Regions from separate parts of the Homo sapiens genome. Here regions 1, 2 and 4 are each linked to region 3. The links are contacts of gene promoters, found by promoter capture Hi-C in human tissues and cell types (Jung and others, 2019). All regions are on one chromosome and are shown on one strand. Each heading gives the region's core, a stretch centred on a gene start or on the middle of the fragment in contact. The rest is flanking DNA. Distances are from core to core; before and after follow the strand shown. Region 1 holds the start of SRSF8 (serine and arginine rich splicing factor 8). Region 2 has its middle 140 kb from the start of SESN3. Region 3 holds the start of SESN3 (sestrin 3). Region 4 overlaps LOC105369439 (a long non-coding RNA gene).

Evidence for each region. Contacts are between HindIII fragments. The study calls those that stand out against the background at their distance.
Region 1: a fragment that was not itself captured here is called in contact with the fragment with the promoter of SESN3 in region 3 in 1 of the 25 tissues and cell types used here (hippocampus).
Region 2: a fragment that was not itself captured here is called in contact with the fragment with the promoter of SESN3 in region 3 in 1 of the 25 tissues and cell types used here (thymus).
Region 4: a contact is called between a fragment that was not itself captured here and the fragment with the promoter of SESN3 in region 3, in 1 of the 25 tissues and cell types used here (hippocampus).

Annotation. Positions count from the first base shown.
Region 1 is chr11:95,066,218-95,070,210 of GRCh38, forward strand. SRSF8 (serine and arginine rich splicing factor 8) reads left to right here and starts at 702. Exons shown (of 1, transcript NM_032102.4): 1 at 702-3,993. The coding sequence starts at 1,010. The coding sequence ends at 1,858. RefSeq lists enhancers at 526-1,283, 1,008-1,197, 1,778-1,887, 2,195-2,374, 2,385-2,444 and silencers at 678-757, 3,617-3,676. The HindIII fragment of the contact is 3,060 bases long and covers 1-2,888 here.
Region 2 is chr11:95,364,891-95,369,271 of GRCh38, forward strand. No RefSeq gene overlaps it. Among named protein-coding and RNA genes, the nearest start is that of SESN3, 140 kb to the left of the region's middle. The HindIII fragment of the contact is 4,861 bases long and covers 1-4,381 here.
Region 3 is chr11:95,228,169-95,232,451 of GRCh38, forward strand. SESN3 (sestrin 3) reads right to left here and starts at 3,034. Exons shown (of 10, transcript NM_144665.4): 1 at 2,615-3,034. The coding sequence starts at 2,692. It overlaps LOC100129203 (a long non-coding RNA gene), which reads left to right and starts at 2,018. Exons shown (of 6, transcript NR_110295.2): 1 at 2,018-2,327; 2 at 2,957-3,405; 3 at 3,884-4,008. RefSeq lists silencers at 2,588-2,897, 2,908-3,057 and enhancers at 3,413-4,052, 4,053-4,283. The HindIII fragment of the contact is 13,238 bases long and covers 430-4,283 here.
Region 4 is chr11:95,478,443-95,482,730 of GRCh38, forward strand. It overlaps LOC105369439 (a long non-coding RNA gene), which reads left to right. Exons shown (of 4, transcript XR_947928.3): 3 at 1-16; 4 at 2,368-2,691. Among named protein-coding and RNA genes, the nearest start is that of SESN3, 250 kb to the left of the region's middle. RefSeq lists an enhancer at 3,862-4,288. The HindIII fragment of the contact is 7,251 bases long and covers 1-4,288 here.

The sequences.
Region 1 (3,993 bases), core at 109-2,608, 160 kb before region 3:
ATGTTTTATTTTTTGTTTTGGTTTTGTTTTACTAATTGCTTGACTTCAACATAAAAAAAGTTTTAGAAATGTGGTTATTAATTTTCAAGTAAATATGATTGGATTCAGGTTTTTTATTTTTAACCTTCAATATTATTTCACTGAGGTCCAGATGTGCTGAATTTATTGACCTATTAAATTTTAATTGACATTTATTTTGTAGTCTTGTATTGGGAAATTCTTCTGTTTTCTATATATTTTTGGTTGTTGCAGGTTATATGATCAAAATTGTTGTTTGTTGTGCAAATTATTATAGCATTACTAGTTTTGTTCTCTGCACTATTGATTTCTGAGAAAACGGTGTTACGGGGAAAAAACAAACTTCCATCATGAGTGCAGATTTTTCAGTTTTACCTTATAACTCTCAGTCTTGGCTATGTGTCACTGTTATGTGTTTAGGTGCGTTAAGTTCATCACTGTAATGTTTTCCTAGTGAATTTTCTTTTCAATAACTATGAAATGTGCTCCTTTGATCCTATCAATACACTGGATATTAATATTGTTGCCCTAGGTTTCTTTTGTTTAATATTTGTCTGGATTGCCTGTTCCCATAAATTGACCTTTAATCAGTTAGCTTTGTTCTTAAGATTGGTTTAAAACGTAGAATAATAGGGAGGAGCATGGGAGGGTGGGACGTCTAATGTAAATCCAGCCCAGTGATTACATTAGCTGGGCGCTGATTAGGTTAGGATGTTGCCCAGGTACAAGGCCAGGATCTTCGGGGCCTGGCTTCATTTGGAGTTCAGCTACCAAAAGGAAACCTTCCTCTGGGTCCTGGAGTATTTGGCCTGAAATTGGGAACTCGGAAGTTGCTGCTCCAGGGCGCTCCCTGCGGAGCTCCGCCGCCCGCCTCTCCGCCCGGCCTTTCCCGGCGTCCCCACGCGGGGCGCAACCGCGAGAAAGAAACGCAGGTCGCACCGTCAGCGCCCAGAGCAGCGCCAGTTTCCGGGCCCGGGCTGCTCTCGGAGCCATGAGCTGCGGCCGCCCCCCTCCCGACGTGGACGGCATGATCACCCTCAAGGTGGACAACCTGACCTACCGCACCTCTCCCGACAGCTTGAGGCGCGTGTTCGAGAAGTACGGGCGCGTGGGCGACGTGTACATCCCGCGGGAGCCCCACACCAAGGCGCCCCGGGGCTTCGCTTTCGTCCGCTTTCACGACCGGCGCGACGCCCAAGACGCCGAGGCCGCCATGGACGGGGCGGAGCTGGACGGACGCGAGCTGCGGGTGCAGGTGGCGCGCTATGGCCGCCGGGACCTGCCCCGCAGCCGCCAGGGAGAGCCACGCGGCAGGTCCAGAGGCGGCGGCTACGGACGGCGGAGCCGCAGCTACGGGCGGCGGAGCCGCAGCCCCAGGCGGCGACACCGCAGCCGATCCCGGGGTCCCAGCTGCTCCAGGTCCCGCAGCCGATCTCGCTATAGGGGTTCTCGCTATAGCCGGTCTCCCTACAGCCGATCTCCTTACAGCCGGTCGCGCTACAGCCGCTCTCCCTACAGCAGATCTCGCTACAGGGAATCTCGCTACGGCGGATCTCACTACAGCTCATCTGGTTACAGTAACTCTCGCTACAGCCGATATCACAGCAGCCGGTCTCACTCGAAGTCTGGGTCCTCCACTAGCTCTCGCTCTGCATCAACCTCCAAATCGAGCTCTGCGCGACGATCCAAGTCCTCCTCGGTCTCCAGGTCTCGCTCGCGGTCCAGGTCTTCATCTATGACCAGGAGTCCTCCCCGGGTATCCAAGAGGAAATCCAAGTCAAGGTCGCGATCCAAGAGGCCCCCCAAGTCTCCTGAAGAGGAAGGACAGATGTCCTCTTAAGAAAATGATGCATCAGGAAGCAACGTGATGGAGGACTTGGGGGAAAAGGATCACATACTCAGTCTATGGAAGCAACGTCCCTGGAAGAAGAGGCTGCCTATTGAAAAGGTTGTGTCACACTTTTCTACCTTTTTGCCAGTTTGAAGCTTTGCATCAGGTGGCAAAATTCATTCTATGTGCCGTTTTGTTGTTATTCACATTTTATTGTAACTTAGGAGGTGAACGACCTAAGATTACGTTATTGGGTTTGGATATTTGAGGCAAAAATTTATTTTTATTTCTATAGTGATGACTGTTTTGGTTTGAAATGAACAGATTGGTAACCTAATTTGTGGCCTCCTGACTTTTAAGGAAACGTGTGCAGCCATTACACACAGCCTAACGCTGTCAAGACATGCTTCAACATTGCCTTCATTCCTTAAAAACCTACAAAAGGTGGTGTAAATTAATATGGATAATTTTATTTACCTCCAGGTCTAAAAGGTAGTGTGACCCAAATTTGTATAAAGATTTTTCATGTGAAAGGACTGGGGTTTTAGCAAACACAGGTCTAATCTCTTTTGTGTTTTTGTGCACCAGGCCCGGCTGCGTAGCAGTTGAGTGATGCTGGTTAGCTATTAAGGTGGCCTGTTGCAGTGCAGAGTGCTGAGCTGCTTCCTGTTTTCTTCTGATTGCTCCTGGGGAAAACACGCCTTGTCCTGAAGAACAAATGGCTGTCCAGTTTATTAAAATGCCTGTCAACTGCACTTCCAGTCACCCAGGCCTTGCAGATAAATAATGGAGCATGCAGTGAGCACATCTAGCTGACGATAATCACACCTTTTCCCCCGTCTTTTCTGAAAAATTGTAAATCTGATCATATCAACATGTATGAACTTAAAATATGGAGAATGTTATGGAAGAAATAGTTTATAAGTTTGTTAAGTACTTATAACATGGTTTATCTTTTTGATTATTAATTTTTTACGCTAACCATTGTTTCTGTAGTTAAAATTGTTTTCTTGGTGTTATCTTTTCTCAGAATAAAATTAGAAACTTTTGATGGAAAGTAGGTTGTTTTATTTTCTGTATGACTTTTGGATATTTGTACTTTTGAGAAAATTATTAGCACCAAGTGTTTCTCAAAATATAATTTTTAAAAAATCCTTAATAGGCTTTTAGCTATGTGCTTTATTGTTTTATCACAATGCAGTTTATTTGTAGTTTCTCTCTTTTTTCCTCACACCTATGGTTTTTTTACTTCCAAAATTATTTTCAAATAATCCATTTTTGGCTTTCATCATTATCCCTACTAGATGTTATGTGTTCTTTTGCAATTGTTTCTGCTTATACCTTTACTAGCAAAGGGAAAAATAACAATTTGGTGTCAATGATCTGGTGACAATAGGATTACATTGGAGCCAATTGAATAAATTTATTCTTTCAATCATATGGATCTTCATTAATATTTTTGACTGAATTATCAATTAAAAATATTTCATTCCCTTTGTGCAGAAACTGCTAAATCCAGGGTTCGATTCTTGAATGAACTGGCAAGGTGGCTGTGGTCTGTAGATATACATCCCACATTTTGTTGTTATAACAGTTAGTAGTTAGTATTGCTTTCATATATAGACTCCAGAATCTAAATTTTACGATAATGACATTTCTTCTGGTCATGACAAATGTAATATTTTACAAATATAAATCTACGTAGAATCCAAAGACACACACAGAGCAGTCCTGTCTGAGAAATAAAAAATCAGGACACCCATGGCATCGTAGTAGCCCCTCGCGTCCAGCAGGTGGCGAAGGGAGGTGAGGTATATTTATTAAATGGGACCGAGTGGGACGGGGACGGGGCAGCCCTAAGGGTAGGGAAGCATTGTCAATTTCTGGGGATAGAATGAGACCCAGGCATAGCTGGAGTTTGAAGCTTTGAAGCAAAAATATCTGTAGAACATCTTAAACGTGACCAAAATATGATGTTAAAATCAGCAACTCTTTATACGTTAAAAACTTTGAAACCTGTGGCCGGGCATGGTGGCTCGCGCCTGTAATCCCAGCACTTTGGGAGGCCAAGGCAGGTGGATCACCTGAGGTCAGGAGCTCAAGACCAGCCTGACCAACATGGTGAAACCCCGTCTCTACTAAAA
Region 2 (4,381 bases), core at 1,178-3,677, 140 kb after region 3:
TCTTTACAAGTTAAAAAATAACTTATTTTTAAAATGTTTCACAACTATACCTAAGATAGGCAGTATTATTTTTGTCATTTTAAAAGAGGGAAACTGAGGCACACAGAAGTGAAATAACTTGCTCAAGTTCACACAGCTAGCAAGTAGAAGAGTGGACATTGTTCTGACTGTCAGCTCTCCCTTTCCACACCAAGTTTCCCTGTTACCACCCTAGGCTTCTTTTACTCCTTCTCTCATCATTCACTTTCCAACAGATCCCAGGCTCATCTTCGTCTGCTAGCCCCTTACATGCAGGCATTCTATGCCCAGTCTCTCCTTCCACACTCACTCTGAACCATCTCTTTAATGCCCCCATTTTTCTCTATTGCCCATATCCCTGTGACCCCCAAATTCACACTGTGGGGCTGGGCATCTCTTCTGACTTTCCAACAACCTGACTGGTGCATGCACTTGGATATCAGGTAGACACCTTTCTTTGTGCATTTAATAGGGAAGTGCCTAATATGTGCCAGGTGCTACATGGTTATTGCAGATATTGTAGTGAACAGGGCAGATGGGGTCTCTGGCTCACAGAAGTTACTCTCTAGCAGGAAAGACAGTCCAAATGCAAAGACATCCCCAAATGAACTTAAATACTGTCTTTCCTCTCCCTTGAATACTTACTCAACTTCCTGTTTTCTCAATTTCAGTTAATACCACAGCCTCGGAGTTGCCGTTAATTCCTTCTTCTTCCTCCAGGCCTAAATCCAAGTGTATCTCCTACATACCTCTTGACTCTGTTCCCTTCTTGCCATCACCACAGCCTTGGATTCATTTCCCACCTGGAAAACCTGGTCGGCTTTCTAGCTGGCTTCCCTGTCTCCAGTTCTACATGCCTCTAATCCATCTGCGACACCATTTTTTTCTAAAGTGCAAACTCGATTGTGCCCTCCCCTCTTTATATCCTCCGGTGGGGCATCTAACTGGCGACACCCCACCTCTTCTGATAATGGGTCTTTTCGTGAGAGCCCAATTCATGTGGTTGGTCCAGCTCCAACCGCCTTCTTATGTCCTCCATGCACCTGGCCATAGTGATGAGTTTCAGAATGGGCAAGAAGAGGCCAAGAAGAACTGTCATGTATAAGTATGGGGAAGGAAAGGGTCTCACTCTTGCTCTGAAATACGAATTGTTTCTTTTTCTCCACATTGGGAGAATCTCTCCAAATGTGAAGGCAGTGCATGAAAAGAAGCTGACCCAGTCAAGACAGAGCCTTAGGAAATTGTTTGAGCTCCTGGATGATTTAGTTGCCCATGAAGTGGGCCTTACTCGTGGACTTTACCAGTCACAGGGGTCAATATATTTTCCATGTTAGAATCCAGTGCTGGCACTTAATGGCTATGTAACTTTGGATAAATTATTTAACCTTTCTGAATACCAATATCCTCATCTCTAAAATGGGCATAATAATAACACCCTCACAGGATTGTAATGAGTTCCAAATGAGTTAATGCATACAGAAAGCTTAGAACATTGCTAAGTGTTAACCATTATTATTATTACCATTACTTAGCTGAGTTTGGTCTTGGGTTTCTTTAGCTTGTAATTGAAAGAGTCACAACAAATACCAAGTCCAAACTTTGTATCCTGCTTACAAGGCTGATTTCTAGCCTGCTCTCCAATGGCTCCATCACAGTCCTTATGCCTCTGTCTTGCTTGTATTAAATTTCTAAAACTCTCCAAACATTTATGCTGTTTCAGACCTTTTTCTAGGTATACAATGTTCTTTCTGCTCAGAATGCTCATCCCCAGTCACCTAGCAAAGTCAGGTAACGATTTTAAGCAGCAAGAAGAAGCAACTAACTCAGGATGCCAGCAGTTTGGGGTCTGATTTTGCCATTGATTATCTGCTGTCTCTGGGCAAGTCTCAACAATTTGGGTCCCCTGCATTTTAAAAATGATTTTTTCTTGATTCTCAAATGTACTTCTCTGTGAACAGAGTTCTATAGATTCATTGGCAGTCAAGGATTCCTTACTCAGCTCAAGTTTCAGGTGAGGAAAAAATAATAAGGCCAGTGTATTAGGCCATTCTTGCTATAAATAAATACCTTAGGCTAGGTAATTTATAAAGAAAAGAGGTTTAATTGACTCATGATTCTGCAGACTGTACAGGGAGCATGGCACCAGGCATCTGCTTGGCTTCTGAGGAGGTCTCAGGAAGCTTACAATCATAATGAAAGGCAAAGGAGGAGCCAATGGATTATATGGTGAAAGTGGGAGCAAGAAACAGAGAGTGGGAGGTGCTACGCTTTTAAACAACCAGATCTCACTCGAACTCACCCATCACCAAGGGAATAGCCCTAAGCCATTAGTAAGGGATCTGCCATCATGATCCAAACACTTTCCACCAGGCCCCACCTCCAACACTGGGGATTACATTTCAACATGAGATTTGGTGGGGACACAGATCCAAACCATACCAGTTAATTAACTCTCCCTAACTCCCATTGCTGGAATGGAGAAGACAGACTTAAATCACAGCAGGAACAGTTGGCTCCCTAGAGACAACCTTCTGAACAGATAGGTGGTCAGCCCAAGAAACAGGGCATTAAGAAGGATGTGCTTCCTTTCTTAGATCTCAAGAAGGGACAAGTGAAATTTCTTCCTGGTCACGTTCCCTGGTCCCCACCCCTGCCTTTCTAAAAACTCAAGAGTTCTACAATCTAACAGCAGCCAAATTAACTTAACTATATCTTTAAAAGCAAGAATAGTTTTCCATTGTCTCTAACGCCTGGCTAGGTTTCTAGAATATTTGGGAATAGTAGTAAAATCAAAATGTTTCTTCTGTATTTCAGCGGGAAGATACTGTCTCTGGGTCTGCATCCCTGAAGCTTTGTTTTACTGTTGGAGATGAACAAATGTAAATAATTTAAAGCATCGCCCCAGTAGTATTTTCCTCATTTAAGTTTTATTTCTATGTAAATTTACCTCAGGCCTGGAAAGGTTTGTTTCTGGCCTAGGATAAATGGCTGTTTTATTGCCAGAGTCCAGGCTGGCGAATTTCCCCAGACACTGGCTAGCTCCTGGGTGGCAGAGTTTGGCTGAAAGACATCAACGCAAACATGGTCTCTTTTTCCTTTGCCTGAACTACTATTCAAATGAAGATTATTAAAGAGATCTAAATGTGAAAATGTTATATACTAGCAACAGACACATCCCCCAAATGCATGCACATGGCCTAAATTAGACCACCGAAGTAGGCGGTGTCCAGCCTAAAAATTATAAGAAAGGAATTGGATAATGAGAGGCAGCAGTCCGTGAAGCCAGCCCACCGGCAGAGCAAGTGCAGCATCCCTAGAAGGGTTTCCTAGAGGGAGAAATGGAAGCATGTGGCACAGGAGTGGAAAGTCGCCCGTTTGTTTCTTTCCCTTCTTTCCCATCAGATTCATTTCCTCTCAACTCCTCTGTAAGAACAATAGTACTTGACTCACAAGCCCAGGTCCCATTAGCTTCTGAGGTCACGTTTTCTTTGAAAACATTATCTTATTTATTAATACTTTTAATAGAGAAGCACTACATAAACAGTCTACCCAATAAAATAATCAAAAATACATCATAGAATTTAATGATTTCTGTCCCCGCCATCTCCTTCATTTTCCGCCCCCTAAGGTTACACCTTCCACACTTTTTTGTTTATGAAAATGTGCATATACCTATATGAGGAGGAGGATGATTGCTACTTATTTTTATAAAAATAGAACCATATTTATTTTTCCGTAGCCTGCTTTTCTTAACAAGACATCGTGGAATTCTCTCTGGGTTAATAGATATTGATCATTTTGTTTTTCAATAGCTGCATAATATTTCCTATTAAAGATATACCATAATTTGAACTATTTCTCTATCAATATACATCCAAAAATAAACAAAAATAGCAATAAGCATTCTTAACATAAATATTTATGTGCTGGCAATTTTATTTTTATAGGATGAATTTTCAGAATTGGATTATTGGGCTTGCATATTTTTCAATTTAGTAGACATTTCTAGTTTATTTTTCCAAAAGGTTGTAGCAATTCAAGCCTTCCCAGAATATAGGACAGTGAAAATCTCCTCCAGGTTTACCAATTCTGGGTTTTCTTCTTTTTATTTCCCCCCCCATGTGATAGGCAAAAATGATGTCTTTAAACTTACTTTATGCTTTCTTGATTACAAGTGAGGTTGCTCATCTTTTCATGGACTTTTTTATTTCTTCTGCTGTGAATTCTCTTATCCTTTGCCTATTTTTGACTGGGTTGAAGTTGTCTTTTCTTACAAATTAAAAGAGCTCTGTACATTAGGAAGATTAACCTTATATCTATCATATCTGTGACAAAAATTTTCCCCAGGACATCACTGGTATTT
Region 3 (4,283 bases), core at 1,784-4,283:
CAATATTCAGGCATTGGGTTAAACCATATTATTTCATTTGAAGGTGAATTCCATTCCTTGTGAAGTTCCCCTAAAATTCAACACACTGCAACAAATTAAGCCACCTACTGAGAGAATAACACTTTCTGTCCCATATAAAGGTGACCCTTCTTCCATCATTATATAGAAATATAAAAGCAAAAGTAATTCACACTGGATGAGCATGAGTTTCATTCTTCCATTATGAATTAGACTGAACAAACATTCAAAATACTATGACTCACTTGGCTACATTACTGAACACTTTATTAAATGGAAAACAAGATAAACTCTAAGAATCACATTTTGAGAGTTATAGATGACTTTTAACTTAGAGTTATATCAACAAGAAAAACATGTCTTTATTAGAAATAAACTTTTCATTGTTATTTTAAGAATGATGAAACATTTAAAATGCTACATACTGATTCTCTTAAGAGCACTTCAAAGTGGCACTCTTTAAAAAGCTGCAAATGTTGCCAAGTCATGTTATAACTGGCTCAAAGAATCCTATTTCCATTAAGTTATTTCATGCCACTGCATGAATCAATATTAAATACCTTGGAGTTACTAAAAACTGGAATACTGGCAGAGATGTGCTCAGCAATTATAAAATACGAAAATGTGAATACTCTTTTTCCACGTTTCTTTTAATAATGGCTAGAAATGAGGATGTTCTTTCTAGGTAAACAGAAATAGTTTCCTAAAAGCTAAAGGAAAGATGTAATATCTTAAATGCTAGCAAAGTGTCATGGATCCATAGCCATAGCTCTCTCAAAAGAAAAATGAAATACATTTTGAAGCCTAATATTACCTCCAAACATTTTATTAGCCTAACAAATTGCCAGAGCCATTAAAAAATTTTTTTATCAAAGTCAATACAGTGCTCTTTTTCCTTATTCAATTAAAAAGCATAACTTGCTGTCATTTTAACCAGGCTGCACTTTAATCAAACATGTCTTAAATGACACATTTTTTCATGTCAAAGACATAACATAAATTTAAAAATTAAGAAATAAATTTTTTTGAAAGCTAAGTTCAGATGACATCTGGCCCTGCAGTGAAAGAGTTAACATCCAACTAAGCTGATCTGCACTTCTGATCCATTACATTTCTCACAAGCTACCCTACAATGAGCTGAGCAAGTATCAACTGTAATTTGATCCTAGAGTTTATGGAAAAAAATAACTGCACATACTCAACATGCACATTTAATAAAAATCTGTTTCAAGAGAAACATATCCAATAAACACAATTTAAGGCATATTTAACTGTTCAATTAACCTCAAATCTGCAATCCCTTTGCTCTCACGCTCTCAAATAAAATAGGAAGAAAAAAAAAAGCAGCAGCCCTACTGCAGGGAAAAGAGGCTTGAAAAACAACTTTGATTGGCACTTGGCCTGACCCACAGAGGAAGAAAAACAGTTTTTGGACAAAGAGCGCAAATATTTGAGCTTGCTTACTTATGTGCTTTTTTCTTTCTTCCTTTTTTAAAAAAAAATGTAGAAAGAACAATCCCAAAGTGAACCGTATTTAGAGATGTTGACTAAAAACGGTACCATATTCATCTCCGCTTTCAGTCCCGATGCATTTGCACAGCTCAGCAATTTTAATTCATTTGTAGTGAACAAACAGAAGCATCTCACCTAACGTTTCCACTTAATAAAATGTAAAAATAGAGTTTGAATACGAATAAACTGATTATAATATTACTTTGGGGCAGCTGTTAAAATCTGATCAAAAAGTCTAGAGACCTTTTTTTCATTCCCTTCCCCATCCCTCTCGCCCTTCCCCGCGGGGCGATTAAGCCAAGTAAGCTAAACAATACTGGAGTAAACTTTCTATCAGTCACTCTAGGAAGCAGCAATAAACTGATGGTGCGCCTCATTTTTCTGGATCAACACGGGGGCAGGGGGGTGCTAAGGAGGAATAACCCACATCCACCTCAGTCTTCTCCTCCCCCAACCCCAGCCTCAGGAACTGGCCAGGTCGAATTGCATTTCCCATGGGCATAAAGTTCAAGATGCTTTACTGGTTCCTTTCGAGACTGAACTACAGACACAGGACTACCATCCAAACAATTTGAAAACGGGGGTTGTTGAGCAAGGCGCGCAAGGCAGAAGCAACCGAATAAACAAAAACAACACTCGCAAGAGTTAGCCACAGCAAAGAGGGGCCAGGTTCCTCGGGATCCGACCCAGCTGCTCTGATTTCACACCGACCTCCATCAACAGCTAAACTGCACAGGGAGGAGGATCGAACGGATCCCTCCCGCCCTCCGCCCAAGGAGCCGACCCGGGGTAGCAAGGTAGGGAAATGAGCCGTAAAGGAGAGCAAAGGCACCAAATAAAAGGAACAAGGGAAGAAAAAATATCCCAACCCCTCCAGACTTGGGTCTGTCCCGGCGGAAATAAAAAGCCGCAGTAGTCCAAACCCTCCTGCCCTCAACCCACGCCCCCTTTCTCAGTCCCTGCGGAGGGACGGTGCCCGGGGATCCCTCTCAGCCTCCCCCAGTGCGCGCCCGGGGACGAGCCGCCCGAGCCCCGGCCGGCAGGAAGCGACCCTCGCCGGCAGGACCCCGGGCCGAACCCGTACCTTCCGCAGCACTTTCCGGCAGTTGGTACAGAGCAGGTAGTTGGCGGCGGCCGACGGGCTGCCGCCGCCCCGGTTCATCGTGGCTGCGGGCGCCGAGGCGAGAGCGGGCGGAGGGCCGGGTCCGGGCTGTCACTGCGGCCACTGCAGGGCCGGTCCGTCCCCCCGCCGCCAGCCGCGATTCCGCCTCAGCCTCCTCAAGGCGGGATGTCGGGAGGAGAGGCGACTGCCTGAAAGCTAGCGGCACTGCCAGAGGCGACCACCGCGGCAGCTGCCCCAGCGACGGCGGAGACGGCGGCGGCTGCTCCTCACCGGCCCGTTGTTCCACCCGCCCCCATCTTCCAGACCCCCGCCCCCGCCAGGCTAGGACGAGCAGCCGCCACCGCTGCCACCGCCACCACCGCCGCCGCAGCGCCTCAGTGCGGCCCCGCCTCCGCCGCCCCACCACCTTCACCACCTCCACGCTCCGGTACCGCCCCTCCCGCCAATCGGACAGCTCCGGCTACGCCCCCAGGGCGCTAGCCCGCAGCCAATGAGCAACGAGAGCCCGACTGGGAGTCGCGCCGGCCAATCGCAGGGGCCGAGGAAGCCTTGAATCTCCGGGCAAGTTAAGTTTATCTCCGAGGCTCGGAACTGAAGGGAGGTGGCGGTTAGCTAAGTAGTAGGGTAGCAGGGAACAGTTTGCTCTCCTCTGCCAATAAGAGGACGAGGGTGTGTCATATGCAAATATACTGCCCTCCAAGCCCCACCCCCAAGATAAGCTACGCCCCCTTCTCTAGGTCCCTGCAGAAGTGGTGAGGAGAATGAGATAAATAGTTGGGAGCTAGAGCTCGCTAGAGAGTCTAAGATTGAGCTAAATATTTCCTGATCTCTCGAGAAAGGGGGAGGGGAGTGGGAGGATTAAATGTTCCTTCCTTCAGGGCAGTGGTTAGGCTTTCTCTCCACCAAAATCTAACTTTAGCTGTAAAGAAGACTGCAGTTATGTAGTACTTTGTATCCAGGGATCTCAAAGAACTTTACGCATCATTTATTGTGAACCTTGTTTTGCAAAGATTTCAGTTACTTGAGGCTTGGGAGGCGGATAGGGGATAAATGTCTGAGTTATATATATATTTACGCAAGTAATCGAGTTTGAGGGGAGAGACACAAAACCTCTGGTTTAGCGGTTTCCTCTTGTTTGTGAAGCACCTTCTAGCAGTTATCTTAGAGATGTAAGTTCATTTACTTGTCCAGCACTAAAAGGCCAAAGGGGCTTGTTTTCTCACCCAAAAGACCTTCCTGAGGCAGCTGTTCGGATACATGCAGAGCACAGCGCCCTGCTCAGAAAGGAAGGTTCAGAGAACAAATTGTCGTTTAAAACTATTGGGACAAACCTACCTCTTCTAAAGCTTAAAATGGTAAGTCAGGGTTTTAGCGTCCACGTTCTGCGGAGAGAAGGCAGACTTGACTGGGGAAAGCGCAGGCTGACCGAGTGTGGCGGGACAGACGGGTAGGGGAGCCAGGTCTCCCGAAGGGGCTAGCAATGCGCGTCCGAGTCGAATGCGGGTTCCCGATGCTAGACGCCCGCAACCTGCTCCCGAGTGAGAACAAAGGCCGGCGCAGAGCGAGAACCTGATTGGTGCCCGGTCCTCACTCGTGTCCTCCGGGCCCCAGAGATAACTTGCATCGCCTA
Region 4 (4,288 bases), core at 1,451-3,950, 250 kb after region 3:
CTGCTAACAAGCCCAGGTATTCCCATGCTCTGAAATTCATTGTTTGCCACAAACTGGGAAGCAATACCCAGGCTACAGGGCACCATGTAAGGCTTAAATAGAGAAGTATCTAGAAAAGACTCCCTGGATACAGAATGTCCATGGTTATCTGTTATTTCTGCTGAATAAACTTGAGGGCAGGAAGAGAGAATCAAACTGGTTTTTGTGAATATTGTTCTGCTACTGTCAGGTCTTGCTTCTTGTGTATTCAATGAAATGTTCCTGTTGATAAATGGAAATGTGTAAATGGACAAGAGCCACTGTAGAGTTTAACACTAATGGGAAGAAAAATAATACCTTCATATACAAGAAATAATTAGTCAGAGGCCAGGATAAGGATGAAGTAGGTCACAGGAAGCTAGAAAATAGGAACCATTTGCAAAGGAGTATGTGAGACAAAGCTAGTAAAGTTAAGGAAGAAAGTGGAGAGACCTGAGCACCAAGGAATACGATAATAGCTTAAGTGTTGATTACTTGCTCTGAAGTAGACACATTCATTGTACCTGAAAAAAGTCAAATAGACTTTGGCTCAAATATTTGTAAGCCTCTATGTGAAATGGGAATCAGACTTTTCTAAGGAGGCTTCAGAGAGGAGAACTGGCACCAGTGTGCCAAGCTCCAAGGAGGCAAACTTTGGCACAGTATCTGAAAGAGCTTTCTAACAATCACTGCATCTGAAGGTGAGCTGGCTGCCTCCAGAGCAGAGAATTTCCCAGTGCTGAAATTGTCCAGGCAGAGTCAGGGCTGTGGGAAAAGGAATGTAAGCAATAAAGGTGGAGGTTTGGAGACTTGGAGACTTGGAGATTATAGTAGTCTATATTTTTCTGAGGGCAGGAGAACTCAAGAACTCTCCAGTTTAAAGTAAGAATAAAAACTAGGCCAGGCACAGTGGCTCATGCCTGTAATCCCAGCACTTTGGGAGGCAGAGGTAGGTGGATCACCTGAGGTCAGGAGTTCAAGACTAGCCTGGCAAACAGCAAAACCGCATCTCTACTAAAAATACAAAAATTAGCCTGGCGTGGTGGCAGACGCCTGTAATCCTAGCTACTCAGGAGGCTGAGGCAGGAGAATTGCTTGAACCTGGGAGGTGAAGGTTGCAGTGAGCTGAGATCATGCCACTACACTCCAGCCTGGGTGACAGAGCAAGACTCTGTATCAAAAAACAAACAAACGAACAAACAAAAAATAAGTGGCAGGAAGAGGCTGGGTTTTGTACCCACACAGATACAGATCCCAGCTCAAATTGCACCTCTGCACTTACTTGCCGAGGGCCCTCGCTGTTTTCTACACTCTCTGGGACTCAGTCTCTTCTCTGTCTATAAAACAGTATAGTCACAGCTATCCTACAATGTTCCAGTGAGCATTAAGTGGTATATCTCATGGAAATTGTCCTAACACACAGAAGTGTGTTTTAGCAAGATAGAGAAATATGGCCCAGGGAAAGGCTGACTTTAGAAAATCCAAAGCTGTGGAATCTCTAAGAACCGCCTCTGAGAAGTAACTTTATATGGGAAACAATGTTGACCTCTCTCTACATTTTTTATATTGTATTTCCTTTCTTGGGCCTGAGATCCTGGAGATCTTCCACTCACTTGAATAGCAATTTCTTGAACCATCGCAATGGCCTGAATTTAAATGGGTAAGAATCAGTTAGTACTAACAAGTCTTACAGAAAAGAAGAGAGGGTTAGGAGCTCAAGATTATTCCTCAGAAAGGATATCCCTTCTCCTAAGGCTTAGGCAGCAACAGTGAACAAGGATGACAACACAGACATCCCAGTATTGTTCAAAATACAGAAAGCAAAGTAAAAGTTGAGACAAATAGTTAAGATATTCAGTTCATAAGCTTATCTATTCATGGTGGATCTGGGTTTGGAAAGAAGCATATTTTATTCATCTTTTGTCCAAAGGTCTAGGCATAACTGAGCTTGTCTGGGGAAACTTTGTAAATGTAAGTTCTTCCTGAAATTGCAATGTGTAGATGGATTATGGTGCCCATCACATGTTATCAGGCTAAGACAGAGGAGACTATGAAAAACTTGTTATAAAAGGAGCATTGGCCAGAGGCAGAGGTTGCAATGAGCCAAGATTACACCAGTGCACTCTAGTCTGGGCAACAGAGTGAGACTCCATCTCAAAACAAAAGGTTGGGGGGCATTCAGTTTGATAGAGTATCACTGATTTGGTCAATCAATGCCTGACATTTCATTGGCCACTGTTAGTCATGGTGGGGAGGGGGCCATGATCTAAGATAACCTAATAAAGCTGAAGGAAGGGTGTCTGTTCCATAAGTGGGGACACCATCTCTTTCTCGCACTGCTCTCAACAGATGGCAGTTGCAGCCATCTTGTGACTAGAAGAAGAGGAAGCTCCATACTCAGGGGCTCCAGAACACTAGAGTCACAGTCCTGAGACACATACCTGGAGGCTGCCCTGCGTGTGGACTTCGGTATGTTTAATAATAAATTTCTTAATATTTTAAGCCAGTTTTAACTGTGTGTCTTACACTTAAAGCCAAATGTGCTCTAACTGTAAAAAGTAAGATGGGGGAATACTAATTCTCATTATAATCTTCTCCAACCAACTTTTAAAAAATAAATTCTACTGTATATATTTGAGGTATACAACACAATGTTATGAGATAGTAAAACGATTACTGTAGTAAAGCAAATTAACATATTCATCATCTCACATAGTTATCTATTTTTTATGGCAAACACAGCTAAAATCTACTCATTTGGCAAAAATCCTGAATACAATACAATATTATTAACTATAGTCCTCATGCTTTAAATTAGATCTCTAAACTTGTTCATCCTGCATATCTGCTACTTTATATCCTTTGAACTACATCTTCCCATTTTCTCCCAGCTTCCATTGATTTTCTTCAAACACCATGTACTTGTATTATTTTGATTTTTAAAAAATAAAATTTTAAGAAATCCTGTTTCTTTCATAAGTGGCGGCCACTGACATAGATCTTAGTCTTTCTCATGCTTCATAGAAACTGAGAAGAGCTTGGGTTCTTGGAATTTCAAAGGCTAAATCAGCCAGTTGATTTAATCTATTTATTTTTTAAAAAATCAATTCTGTAAAAAATTTAGTCAGGTTAAACCTTTTAACACTCACATAAGGGCAAACACTAGTTTAAATGTCTTCATTATTTCATGTTCTAACCAGTTGTGTGGCATTATGCATATAGGATATTATAACATTTGAATTTAGTGGCTAGCAATGTTGTGGCAAAATGTGATTAACATATCCTGTGGCTGTCCTCTCCCTCTCCCTCTCCCTCTCCCTCCCCCTCCCCCTCCCCCTCTCCCTCTTGTCTCCCTCTCCCCACGGTCTCCCTCTCCCTCTCTTTCCACAGTCTCCCTCTCATGCCTAGCCGAAGCTGGACTGTACTGCTGCCATCTCGGCTCACTGCAACCTCCCTGCCTGATTCTCCTGCCTCAGCCCGCCGCGTGCCTGCGATTGCAGCCGCGCACCGCCACGCCTGACTGGTTTTCGTACTTTTTTGGTGGAGATGGGGTTTCGCTGTGTTGGCCGGGCTGGTCTCCAGCTCCTAACCGCGAGTGATCCGCCAGCCTCGGCCTCCCGAGGTGCTGGGATTGCAGACGGAGTCTGGTTCACTCAGTGCTCAATGGTGCCCAGGCTGGAGTGCAGTGGCATGATCTCGGCTCGCTACAACCTCCACATCCCAGCCGCCTGCCTTGGCCTCTCAAAGTGCCGAGATTGCAGCCTCTGCCCTGCCGCCACCCCGTCTGGGAAGTGAGGAGCGTCTCTGCCTGGCCGCCCATCGTCTGGGACGTGAGGAGCCCCTCTGCCTGGCTGCCCAGTCTGGAAAGTGAGGAGCGTTTCTGCCCGGCCGCCATCCCATCTAGGAAGTGAGGAGCGCCTCTTCCCGGCCACCATCCCATCTAGGAAGTGAGGAGCGTCTTTGCCTGGCCGCCCATCGTCTGAGATGTGGGGAGCGCCTCTGCCCCCCCGCCCCGTCTGGGATGTGAGGAGCGCCTCTGCCCAGCCGCGACCCTGTCTGGGAGGTGAGGAGCATCTCTGCCCAGCCGCCCCGTCTGAGAAGTGAGGAGACCCTCCGCCTGGCAACCGCCCTGTCTGAGAAGTGAGGAGCCCCTCCGCCCGGCAGCCACCCCATCAGGGAAGTGAGGAGCGTCTCTGCCCGGTAGCCACCCCGTCCGGGAGGGAGATGGGGGTCAGCCCCCGCCAGGCCAGCTGCCCCGTCCGGGAGGGAG